2 separate regions of the Homo sapiens genome follow, and region 2 is linked to region 1. The links are contacts of gene promoters, found by promoter capture Hi-C in human tissues and cell types (Jung and others, 2019). All regions are on one chromosome and are shown on one strand. The core of a region is centred on a gene start or on the middle of the fragment in contact, and the rest is flanking DNA. Distances in the headings are between cores, read along the strand shown.

Region 1 (5,542 bases), core at 2,560-5,059:
GTGGAAAAACTAAGCTAATCTTACTTTCATAAGCTTTTTAAAGGGCAAAATTTTACTTTTACTTTTAAAATAATTTTTAAAAGGAGCTACTAATCTCAACAAATCCAACTATTAAAGTTTCACAGGGACAAAAAAGAACTACCACCAGTGGGTACAAATTTGTTATATGTTTTGTTCTGGCTATGGTTACACCTCTTGATTTTGGAAACATGATTATTTTGCTGAATCTTAAATTTTAAAAAAACACTGAACATAATGTCAAATTGAGCCTGATTTTCTTCCTTCCTTCCTTCCTTCCTTCCTTCCTTCCTTCCTTCCTTCCTTCCTTCCTTCCTTTCTTTCTCTTTCTTTCTGATACATGTAAAAAAAATGTTTTAGTTATCTTTAGGGCTCAGAACTCAAAGGTTTAAGAATCACTGGAGATCTGAAGAAACCAGACAGGAGCCAGCCAGCTACTATGTGTTTAGGGAGTGATGCTCACTCCAAAGCCTACTCTCGTTCTTCCGCAGCAGTGCTTCTCAAACTTTGACCAAAGCACGCGGACAGTAGGGGAGAATGGATTCTATCTGCAGGAAGAAGACAGAGTCCAGGGCTGCGAGTTTTCATTCAAAGTTCACACTAAACTTCACACTATTCTTATGTCTGTTTTAATATAAAGAAATACGCTTTGAAATGCACATTTCTTTATACTAAACCTCCAGCACCTTCTACCCCTCCTTTTATTTTTCCCTTACTTTTTCATGTAGACACTTAATGCCTCCACAAAATCATATTGTTCACTTATCTTCTTTGATTATTGTCTGCTTCCTCCCCGAGGGAGGGTTATTTTGTTCGCTGCTGCACGCCAGCACCAAGAACAAGACCTGGCACTTGTCAGGACTCAACAAATCCATGCAGAATGAACGATGAAATGTTTTAGATGAGGATGTGTTCAATCCAACTGTTCTGGAGGGGCTCCTTCTTTATCCCATGGCTCAGAGGCACATTTCCTCATTCTGAGTGGCAAGCGCTCCCAGTTTTGGAAGAAAAAAATGTGTTACACTTAGGGAATGTGGGGGAAAGAAGCAGCAATGACTCTTCCCCACTTGCTTGGCATCACAAGATACTTTTTGACTTCTGAGCCCATGTCATGCATGTAGTGTGTCATGTGCCCACATCATGAGATCTTTTCTTGATTCCTGATGAGTTAATTTGATTTTATTCCCACTAAGTGTCCTCTGATTTAATGAGGGTGGTCTTCAGTGGCCTGCACTTGCCTAGACAATGCTGCTCTCCCTGCCTGAACAGATCCTTCTCATCCCTCAAAGCCCAGCTTGGGTGAAACCTCTTTTTTGACATTAGCCTTCATTTAATGGTTTGAAAGCCAAGGCCAGGTCTTTTTTTTTTTTTTTTTTTTTTTTTTTTCCCATTCAGAGGCAGCCTTTCCAGCAATGTGGGGCCAGGGAATGGATGTCTATGAAGTCTATTGAAGTGGCCTAAGAGAAACAATAAGCTGATTTCAAAGCATATACAGCAATTTTAAAAGAATGTACAATAGTGTATCATCTTTCACTAAGTCACAAATGCCAATCACCAATTCATTTAACTCTGTATTTCCTCTAGGTTCTCAGGAAAACATTTACTTTCTTTCATCTATAGCAATTTTAGGCACAAAAAGCTACATGCTTGGCCTGACCATGGTCCTCCGATGACAAGTTGTTGGTCTTTAAAAGCACATTTTGCTAGTTACTGACATTACTGAGCTTACTTAAAAGAGAGCTACCTTGTTATTCTCTGAGAGTATCCCAAGCCACCTTGTTTACCTACCATTACAATGTTTAGTATGATAAGCCCGCATATAAACCCTAGCTTGTCCCAGGCACTCTTGTAAGCTGATTGCATTTATTCACTCATTACTCTGCAAAACAACTTTACTACTATGATCCCCATTTCACAGATGAGGAAACAGGCACAGAAAGAGGATGAGTAAAAGTAAAGCTGGTAAGTTCCAGAGTCAGGATTCGGACCTAGGTGCTCCTGAGACCATGTGCCTAACTACTAGCCAGCTTGCCTCACACCTTTGTCCTCCTCCACCTCCTCCATACCTGTCTGCCCACCCCTTGCCCCGATCTTTCCTTTTCATGGCCAGAGAAAGATCCTGCTGCCTCACTCTAAAATCATCTCCCAAATCAACGAAGCTAAATTTCTTCCAATTGGGATGAAACCACCTTAATGTTCTTTCTTAATTCTTTGCACACTCTAGCTGATACTGATTATTCACTTATTGGCTAGCCCCTGCTATTCCATGCTTTGATCAGACACACCCATCTCTTAATGTTCTGTTTTCTTCTCTCTGAATTCCTGAACAGAATATTTACAAATATAAAGTCCAACAAGAAAATGGTGTGATCTAAATGGGGTTTCGGAAACATAAATCTGGTGGTGGCATCTGAGGAGGGAAAGGGAGGGTGTGTGGGTGAGAAAATGGGTGTGTAGAACTGTTAGAAACTTCCACTTTTGAAGTCACAAAATGCTGTAAGAGCTTTGGGAATGGAAAGGAAGGGGTGGATTCAAAATGCATTTTAGAAAGAACAATGGGTTGGACTTGTGGGCAATTGCCTCTAGGGATAAGGTAGAGAAGGGAGTTAAAATGATACCGCTATTTTGGGCTCAAATGATTATAATGAGAGTTTCATCACCTGAAATAGGTACATCAGGAAGCTAATCTGATTCAGGGAGAACAAAAAGTTCATTTTAGAATCTTTGTCATCATCCCTGTTCAACAGTTGGAAGCCACCATAAGTGAGCATTTAATGAGCCCCATTCAAGTGTCTAACAGAGCATATGATGTTAAATGTCCAACAATAATTAACTGAAGGTGAATACACCTTTTATTCTGGCCCCACGGAGGTGCCTACCAGGGTATTTGATGCGTAAGATCCTCCCCAGCCCTCCTCTACAGGGATGGAATTGGGGGTATGATTTGAATGTAAGAAATACGACTTAAGGCCGGGCACGGTGGCTCACACCTGTAATCCCAGCACTTTGGGAGGCCAAGGCAGGCAAATCATCTGAGGTCAGGAGTTTGAGACCAGCCTGGCCAACATGGTGAAACCCTGTCTCTACGAAAAATACAAAATTAGCATGGCATGGTGGAGCGCGCCTTTAATCCCAGGTACTCAGGAGGCTGAGGCAGGAGAATCGCTTGAACCCAGGTGGCGGAGGTTACAGTGAGCCCAGACCATGACATTGCACTCCAGCCTTGGCAACAAGAGCGAAACTCCATCTGAAAAATAAAGAAATATATATAAATAAAAATTAAAATAAATAAAAGAAGAAATACCACTTACTACATAGCCTAACCCCACGCAATAGCAAATATATTTTCTTTATCACACCTAAAAATCGTCAGAAAATGGCAAAATTAGTCATGTTATGTGCTTGATTTCCAGATTTGGTCTTACTTCATATTAATTTCTTAAGTAACCAACTCAAACGATCTTGAACTCCCACCCATTTGTTTCTTCAAAGTCCTGAACAATGCCAGAAGAGAGTCTACAGATCAGACAGTGCAAACAGAAAGCTTCTTGGAATTCAGCCATTAAAATCAGGCACTCAAGGTAGAATAGCAGGAGTAAAAGCTGAAAGACCTACACACTCAGCACAGAGCCAAGGCAGCTCAATCGCAGGGCCTAGAGTGGTGCGTTCAAAGAGTGTGAGATTGGTAGACAATCGCTCATGAAACAGTGTTTCGAAAATCTAAGCGACTCTGATGATTCATATTAGGAATTCATCCCAAACCTCAGATTGGTACACCTTCCTTGATTTCACACAAGCTCAGGAGTAGCTGCCATGCACATCAGTGTCCATTAAAATGACTTGTAGCAAATCTCTACGTTCAAAGTCTAACTTTGACAGACAACCTTACTTCCAGCGAAGTCTACTCCCCTCCCTCCGGAGGGAAGAATGGGCTGCGGTTAAGCGTTTGCCCTGGTGTCAGGGCCAACTGCTTCGAAGCGCCAGACTTTCGGAGACTGTGGGTAAGAGAAAAAAAAAATCCAGTCCGGGTTTTGTCTGAGCGGGGGGACCGGAGGGTTGTGAGGAATGGCTCGCGAAGAGGGGGGCGGTGGTGGAAAACATACAACACAAACAGCTCGCGCCGAGGCACGGCAGCGGTAGGCCCGGAGCGCGCGGGCGCAGCCGGCCGGGAGAGGCGCGCGCGGGCTCGGCCGCCGGCCGCATGGAGCGCAGCGCGGCCCGCGGCTCCCGGGCGGCGGCGGCGGCGGCGGAGGCGGCAGCGCGCCGCTCGCTCACACCCACCCCCGCCCGCGGCCGCCGCGCCGCCCCGCCGTAGCCGCCGGCCGCCGGCGTCCCCGCCGGCCGGTCCAGCGAAGGCGGCGCCCGCGCCTCTGCAGCCAGTGGCAGCCGCGGGTCCTGGCCGGCGGCTCCTGCAGCCCCTTGCGGCCGCGAGTCCCCGGCCCTGCGGCCACCGGCGGAGGCAGAGGAGGAAGAGGAGGTGACAAACTCTCCGGCCCCGCGCCGCGGCCCGCAACCCCGCGCTCAGGCATGCAGGCGCGGCGTCTAGCCAAGCGCTCCAGCCTGGGCAGCCGCCGGGGGGGCGCCGCGCTGCAGCCTGCCGGGCCGGCGCCCGCGCCCGCCAAGGAAGCCGCCCTACCCGGGCTCCCGCCCCCTGTCCCGGGCCCGGCCCCGGCGCCCGCCCCGGAGAGCTGGAGGCCGCCGCTGCCGCCGCCGCCGCGCAGCGCCGGGACCGGCCCCCCTCGGGCCACCGGGGCCGCCGCCGCCGCCTCGTCGCCGGTGCTGCTGCTTCTAGGGGAGGAAGACGAGGACGAGGAGGGCGGGAGCAGGCGGCGGAGGGGGCTCGGGCGTGTGGAGGAGAAGCCCCGAGGGGGCGCGGAGGAGGAGGATGACGACGAGGAAGAGGAGGACGAGGAGGTGGTCGTCGAGGTGGTGGACGGCGACGAAGACGACGAGGACGGCGAGGAGCGTTTCGTGCCCCTCGGACCCGGCCACGCAGTCCCCAGGGGCCCGGCCCGGGGCGCGTTGAAGGTGCGTGTTGGGCGCGGTGGCGCGCGTGGGACCCGCCAGCCCGGGGAGGGGGACGGGCCCGGGCCCCGGGGCAAGGCGCCTGGCCGAGGACGGTCAGCGGCGCCGGGGAGAGACCCGGCCAGGAGGGGTGTGTCAGGCGGCGCGGGCGGCCGCGCGGGGCAGCGCGAGGAACTGTTGATTTGCCTGCGCCTTGGGCCCCTGCGTCTCTCCCAGGCGGCGGCTCCCGCTTTCCTCAAAGGCCGTGTCGGGTTTGTTGTTTGGTGTGGGTGCCGGGAAAGGGCGCTTCTCCCCAGTGAGGTGGGGAACTTGGGTGATGGGACCACGGAGGCGCCGGTTCGTGCCCGGTGGGGACGGGTGAGGCAGGGGAGAGTGAGATTTTATTCTCCCCCAAGGAAGGAGTGTCCCCTTCTCCTTATTTTGAGGGCTATTCAAGCTTATTGAAACCAGAAAGCGGTGTTTCTTGTCAATCTCTCAGCCCCTTCTTCCAACCAAGAAC
Region 2 (5,542 bases), core at 988-3,487, 630 kb after region 1:
TATAGTGCCAGTACATGAAAAAAAAATCAAAATATAATTTGAAGAATTCCAAGTTCCAAAAGAAAGGGCTATATAATATATATGTATATTATATATATACACATATATATTTATATTTATTTTAGAGATGGGATCTTGCTATGTTGCCCAGGCTGACATTGAACTTCTGAATTCTAGGGATCCTCCTGCCTCAGCCTCCCAAGTAGCTGGGACTACAGTTACCTGCCACCATGCCTGTCCAGAAAGATATGTTTTCTAAGAAGAAAATAGAAAATTACAACAGGCACAGGAAAATAGAAAATGGAAAAAAATCTGTAACTGAAAAAGCAGAGAAATTTGGGGGGAAAGCTAATCATTAAAATAAAAAGAGTAATTTTTATATACACATATTCAAACTTAAAGAACGATTTTCAGGGCCCAGCTTGGTGGCTCACGCCTGTAATCCCAGCACTTTGGGAGGCCAAGGCGGGCAGATCACCTGAGGTCAGGAGTTCGAGACCAGCCTGGCCAACATGGCAAAATCACATCTCTACTAAAAATACAAAATTAGCTGGGTGCGGTGGCAGGCGCTTGTAATCCCAGCTACTCAGGAGGCGGAGGCAGGGGAATCGCTTGAGCCTGGGAGGCAGAGGTTGCAGTGAGCTGAGATCGCACCACTGCACTCCAGCCTGGGCAACTCTGTCTCAAGAAAAAAAAAAAGAATGATTTTCAGAAATCAAATCTAAGTCCTGTCAAGTGTTTTCAGGTTTGTTGGAAAGGATATACAGGTATAAGACAACCTTATTCACCAAGAATGGGTTACAGTCTCTGTTTTTCATTCTTTCCAGCCAAGTCCCTATGCCCACTACCCTCACAATAAGTGTGATCCTTGGAAGGGATCCTGCAATCTTGTGGACATTTATTTTTTGTTGTTGTTGTTGTTGTTTGTTTGTTTGTTTGTTTGTTTGTTTTGAGACAGAGTCTCGCTGTTGCCAAGGCTGGATAAAAGTGGTGAGATCTTGGTTCACTGCAACCTCTGCCTCCCAGGTTCAAGCGATTCTAATGCCTCAGCTGGGATTACAGGCATGTGCCACCACACCCAGCTAATTTTTGTATTTTTAGTAGAGGCGGGGCTTCACCATGTTGGCTAGGCTGGTCTCCAACTCCTGACCTCAAGTGATCTGCCCACTTCGGCCTCCCAAAGTGCTGGGATTACAGGCATGAGCCACTGTGCCTGGCCAAGATTTGTTGTTTAATGTTGACTTTTGGTCAGGCACAGTCGCTCATGTCTGTAATACCAGCACTTTGGGAAGGTGAGGTGGTAGGACTGCTTGAGGCAGAGAATTAGAGACCAGCCTGGGCAATATAGTGAGACTTCATCTCCACAAATATTTTTAAAAACTAGCTAGCCCTGGTGGTGCACACCTTTGGTCCCAGCTGCTCAGGAGGCTGTGATGGGAGGATCACTTGTGCCTGGGAGGTTGAGGCTGCAATGGGCCATGATCAGCCTGGGCAACAAAAGTGAGACCCTGTCTCAAAACAAACAAACAAACAAAAAGCAACTTGATTTTTAATGCCAGATTATTTCTTTTTCTCTCCAGTGTTCTGCTGTATTTCCTCCCTACCCTTGACTGAAGCTTCCCTTGAATCACAATATTCTTGTCATTGAGACTCTCTCTCAGCCTGCAGCCGTGGTAGAAGAAAAAAGGGAAGAGAACCCGAAGGCATTTGAGACATCTCCTTGTCGGTCTCTCCAACAACAGTGGCTAGAGACTCTCTGTATTCCCTGACTCTCAATCCTGAGCGGAGGACAGAGCCCAGAGCAGAGTCCTGGGAAGCACAGGGGCTGGCTGAAGGGAAAGGCGGACGCGCGGGGCCGCAGGGCGGCGCCTGGGAGCCAGGCAGCACCCTGGGCCGATGCGCGGAGTGCTGGAGGGCGGCGCTGCGGAGCACGCCTCTGTGGAAGGCACGCCTCTGTGGCTGGAACCAAAAGGGAGGTGGATGGCGTTCAACTTTGACAGAAGCCGAGGACTGCAAAGAGACGGCCTGGTAGAACCACAACCCTGATGCTGTCTCGACCTGGGCACAGTTAATAATCAGGGCAGGTTAATAGGTAGTCACCCGGACACTGATAGGTTTCCTGCCGAATGTTGAAAGACTGCGAAGAAGCCTCCCTGGGGACAGTGACCAAACTCTCCTTTGAAGGCAAATTTCCATTCTCTTGGGAAAACACAGCCTTGCAATCCAGGGACATTTTTGGAAGGCAGCTTGGTGATCTTTTGCTGTTACAGATTAGGTTTGCCCCCATGAGAGTATCACCCCCACCACCACATCTCAAAGCAGCTTATCAAAGAATTCCCTCCAATGCTTCCAGCTCTTTCTCTGAAAGCAGTTCTGGTAAACTCAGTTTTCATTTTCTCATTATGTTTGCAGTGCTATTTTAGTGTCCCACTCACTAACCGAGCTCTGACAAAGAGGAACGAGAAGGTGTGAACTCAGGGCTGCCTCCTAGGATGACTGGGACTGTGCGCCACACAGGACACGCGGCCCTGGTGGGCTCCCAGCCCCGCGGGCCCGCAGCTGCTCAGCAGCCTGTGCACCCCTGGGGCTGTGGGCACCTAAAGAAGAGAGCCTAGGCTCCAGATGGAAGCTTGCTGGTCAAAAAAGTCAAAAGTGGCCGGCGTGGTGGCTCATGCTGTAATCTCAGAACTTTGGGAGGCCGAGTTGGGCAGATAGCTTGAGGTCAGGAGACCAGCCTGGCCAACATGGCAAAACCCCGTCTCTACTAAAAATACAAAAATTAGCCAGGCGTGGTGGCGCTGCCTGTACTGTGGTCCCTGCTACTCAGGAGGCTGGGGCAGGAGAATTACTTGAACCCGGGAGGTCGAGGTTGCAGTGAGCCGAGATTGTGACATTGCACTCCAGCCTAGGCGACAGACTGAGGCTCTGTCTCAAAAAAAAAAAAAAAAAAAAGTGTGATGCTCTTTCCGGAGCTGGGATCACCTAAATTTGCAGATTAAAGATCTGAAAACTTGAAAATAGAAAATAGTGACCCATACTCTCTCATTTTCCTAAGACTTTCCGATCTCCAATGGAAGGCCGGAGAAAGGAGGGCTACAGAGGAGGAAAACCACTTCTTACCTGTGTGGGGTAAATGTGCCTTTCTGCTGCTCCTGAAAATAGGGTCAGGTGCTCACTGAAGTTTACTGCTGCATGTATAGGCAAATCCAGTTGCAGTTTTCTCAAACAATTCTTGTCTTGGGAATTGCTTCCTTGGGAGAAAACCCACTGGTGGATAGAAAATCAGAAGATTCAGGCTCGGGCTTCACTTTTGTCATTGGTTTTGATGTGGTCAAATCATTCTTTCTGGGTTTGTTTCCCTGTGCTTAAATACATCTGCTAACATTTTAAAAATAATTTACTATGTATCTGAAATAGTGCTGGGTAAGCCATTGCATGTATTATCACAATGCGACAATACATTAAAATAGGTAATATTCCCATTTTACAGAACGTCAATTAGAATTTGCCCAAGATCACACAGCAGATACTTTTAAATGTGCATAGTGTCCACTACAATATGCCACTGCCTCTTAACATGGGGCTAATAACATATAACTGGTTAGGTACAGGGCCACCTTAGACACTGCACAGTTCTGTGGCTTGGAGATGTGCAGTGTCAACTTGGTTAGTTGTACACAGGGCCTTGATTAGGTCCACCCACAGTGTCCTATACATATTTGTTATTACACTGATTATGTTATATTGTAATGTAATATTTTATATTTATATATATATGTTATCCACACATCCTGCTTCCTTTGCTTGGGGTATAAATGATGTCATTCCACATGGTGTCCCATCTTCCTTGATGGGCTTCTTCACCCTTGACAGAGGCCACTCCCCTGCTATGAACCTGAGTGCCAGGAATGCACATGTATATCCGAAGGGGTAGCCCCAGATACACTTACCTCACTTACAGAAGCCGGAACTGAGGCTGGAAGAGTCTACACTCCTCGTGCTGGATGCCTCCAGAGTCCCACAGCTGACACCATGGTTACTGAAACCAGAGCTCTGATGCGGCTACTGAAATCTGGCAAAATGGAATGATGCTCAGGCTAAGCCTCCTGCTCCACTGCAGCCACCACCACTCGTGCACCATAAAGCAACATTTCCTCGAGATGGGAGGGTGGGTTGCTACTTCCCTCAGTGTCTCACTCAGCTGTGTTAGCCAGGGATCCCAGTGTGGTGGCATTTCCAACGCAGCTGGGGGATGGGCAGGGGAGGGCACAAGTTCCATCAACTGCTGTGGATCCAGAACACCCATCCCTCTTCTAACTCCAAGCCCTGGGTGCAGAGGCCACACTGTACTAGTCTCATCTCCAACTTCTGCCAGGCTCATTTCCCCCATTCAATGAAGTGGAACACATTTAAAGTACAAAGGTGAGGGGTCGCTCTCTTGGTGCTATTCTTCCCCAGCTAAAATGTCTCCTTGTTGTTTTCACCTCCCCACTCCCCTGCACTGTGAGCTGGCTGAAGGCTCCTCTTCACATTGGTCATGGTTTTGCCACAATGCATGGCCCACAGAAAGCACTGGAACATTCACAAATGAACATCATTTCCCTTCTTGATTCTCTGTGTTTTATTTATTTATTTTGAGATGGAGTCTCACTCTGTCATCCAGGCTGGAGTGCAGTGGCACCATCTCAGCTCACTGCAGCCTCTGCCTCCTGTGTTCAGGCGATTCTCCTACCTCAGCCTCCTGAGAAGCTGGGATTACTGATGCCCGCCACCACGCCAGGATAATTTTTGTATTTTTAGTAGAGACAGGGTTTCACCATGTTGCCCAGGCTGGTCTCGAGCTCCTGACCTCAGGTAATCTGCCCGCCTCTGCCTCCCTAAGTGCTGGGATTACAGGCATGAGCCACCGCACCCAACTATTTATTTATTTATTTATTGAGACAGAGTCTGGCTCTGTTGCCCAGGCTGGAGTGCAGTGGCGCAGTTATGGCTCCCTGCAGCCTCGATCTTCTAGGCTCAAGTGATCCTCCTGCTACCTCAGTCTCCCAAGTAGCTAGGACTGTAGCCACATGCCACCACACCCAGCTAATTTTTAAATTTTTTGTAGAGACAGGGGCCTCACTTTATTATCCAGTCTGGTCTCAAACTCCTAGGCTCAAGTGATCACGCTGTCTTGGCTTCCCAAAATATTGTGATGTACAAGCATGAGCTACTGTGCCCAGCCTCTTTTTCTCTGTTTTCAAAAGTCCATAATTTCCTTCTTGATCTAACACCTTTTTGGCCGTGTTTCTAGAAAAGAGAAGCTGTTGATCACAGGTGCCATTAGGATTGGGGTGGCCAGCCTGTGGTTCCAGGTACCAGGATCGCAGGTGCATTCTGGGCAGATTTTGGAATCAGTAAGTAGGAAAACAAATTGCTAGGCTGGGCACCATGGCTCAAACCTGTAATCCCAGCACTTCAGGAGGCCAAGGCAGGCAGACTGCTTGAGCCCAGGAGTTTGGGACCAGCCTGGGCAACATGGTGAAACTCTGTCTCTCTTCTT

What was found. Contacts are between HindIII fragments. The study calls those that stand out against the background at their distance.
Region 2: a fragment that was not itself captured here is called in contact with the fragment with the promoter of ZNF704 in region 1 in 1 of the 25 tissues and cell types used here (heart left ventricle).

The regions. Positions count from the first base shown.
Region 1 is chr8:80,873,048-80,878,589 of GRCh38, reverse strand. It overlaps ZNF704 (zinc finger protein 704), which reads left to right and starts at 3,809. Exons shown (of 9, transcript NM_001033723.3): 1 at 3,809-4,019. RefSeq lists a silencer at 4,930-5,130. The HindIII fragment of the contact is 4,011 bases long and covers 1,799-5,542 here.
Region 2 is chr8:80,237,122-80,242,663 of GRCh38, reverse strand. MIR5708 (microRNA 5708) reads right to left here and starts at 1,275; the gene lies at 1,191-1,275. RefSeq lists silencers at 1,780-1,859, 1,870-1,929. The HindIII fragment of the contact is 5,704 bases long and covers 1-5,089 here.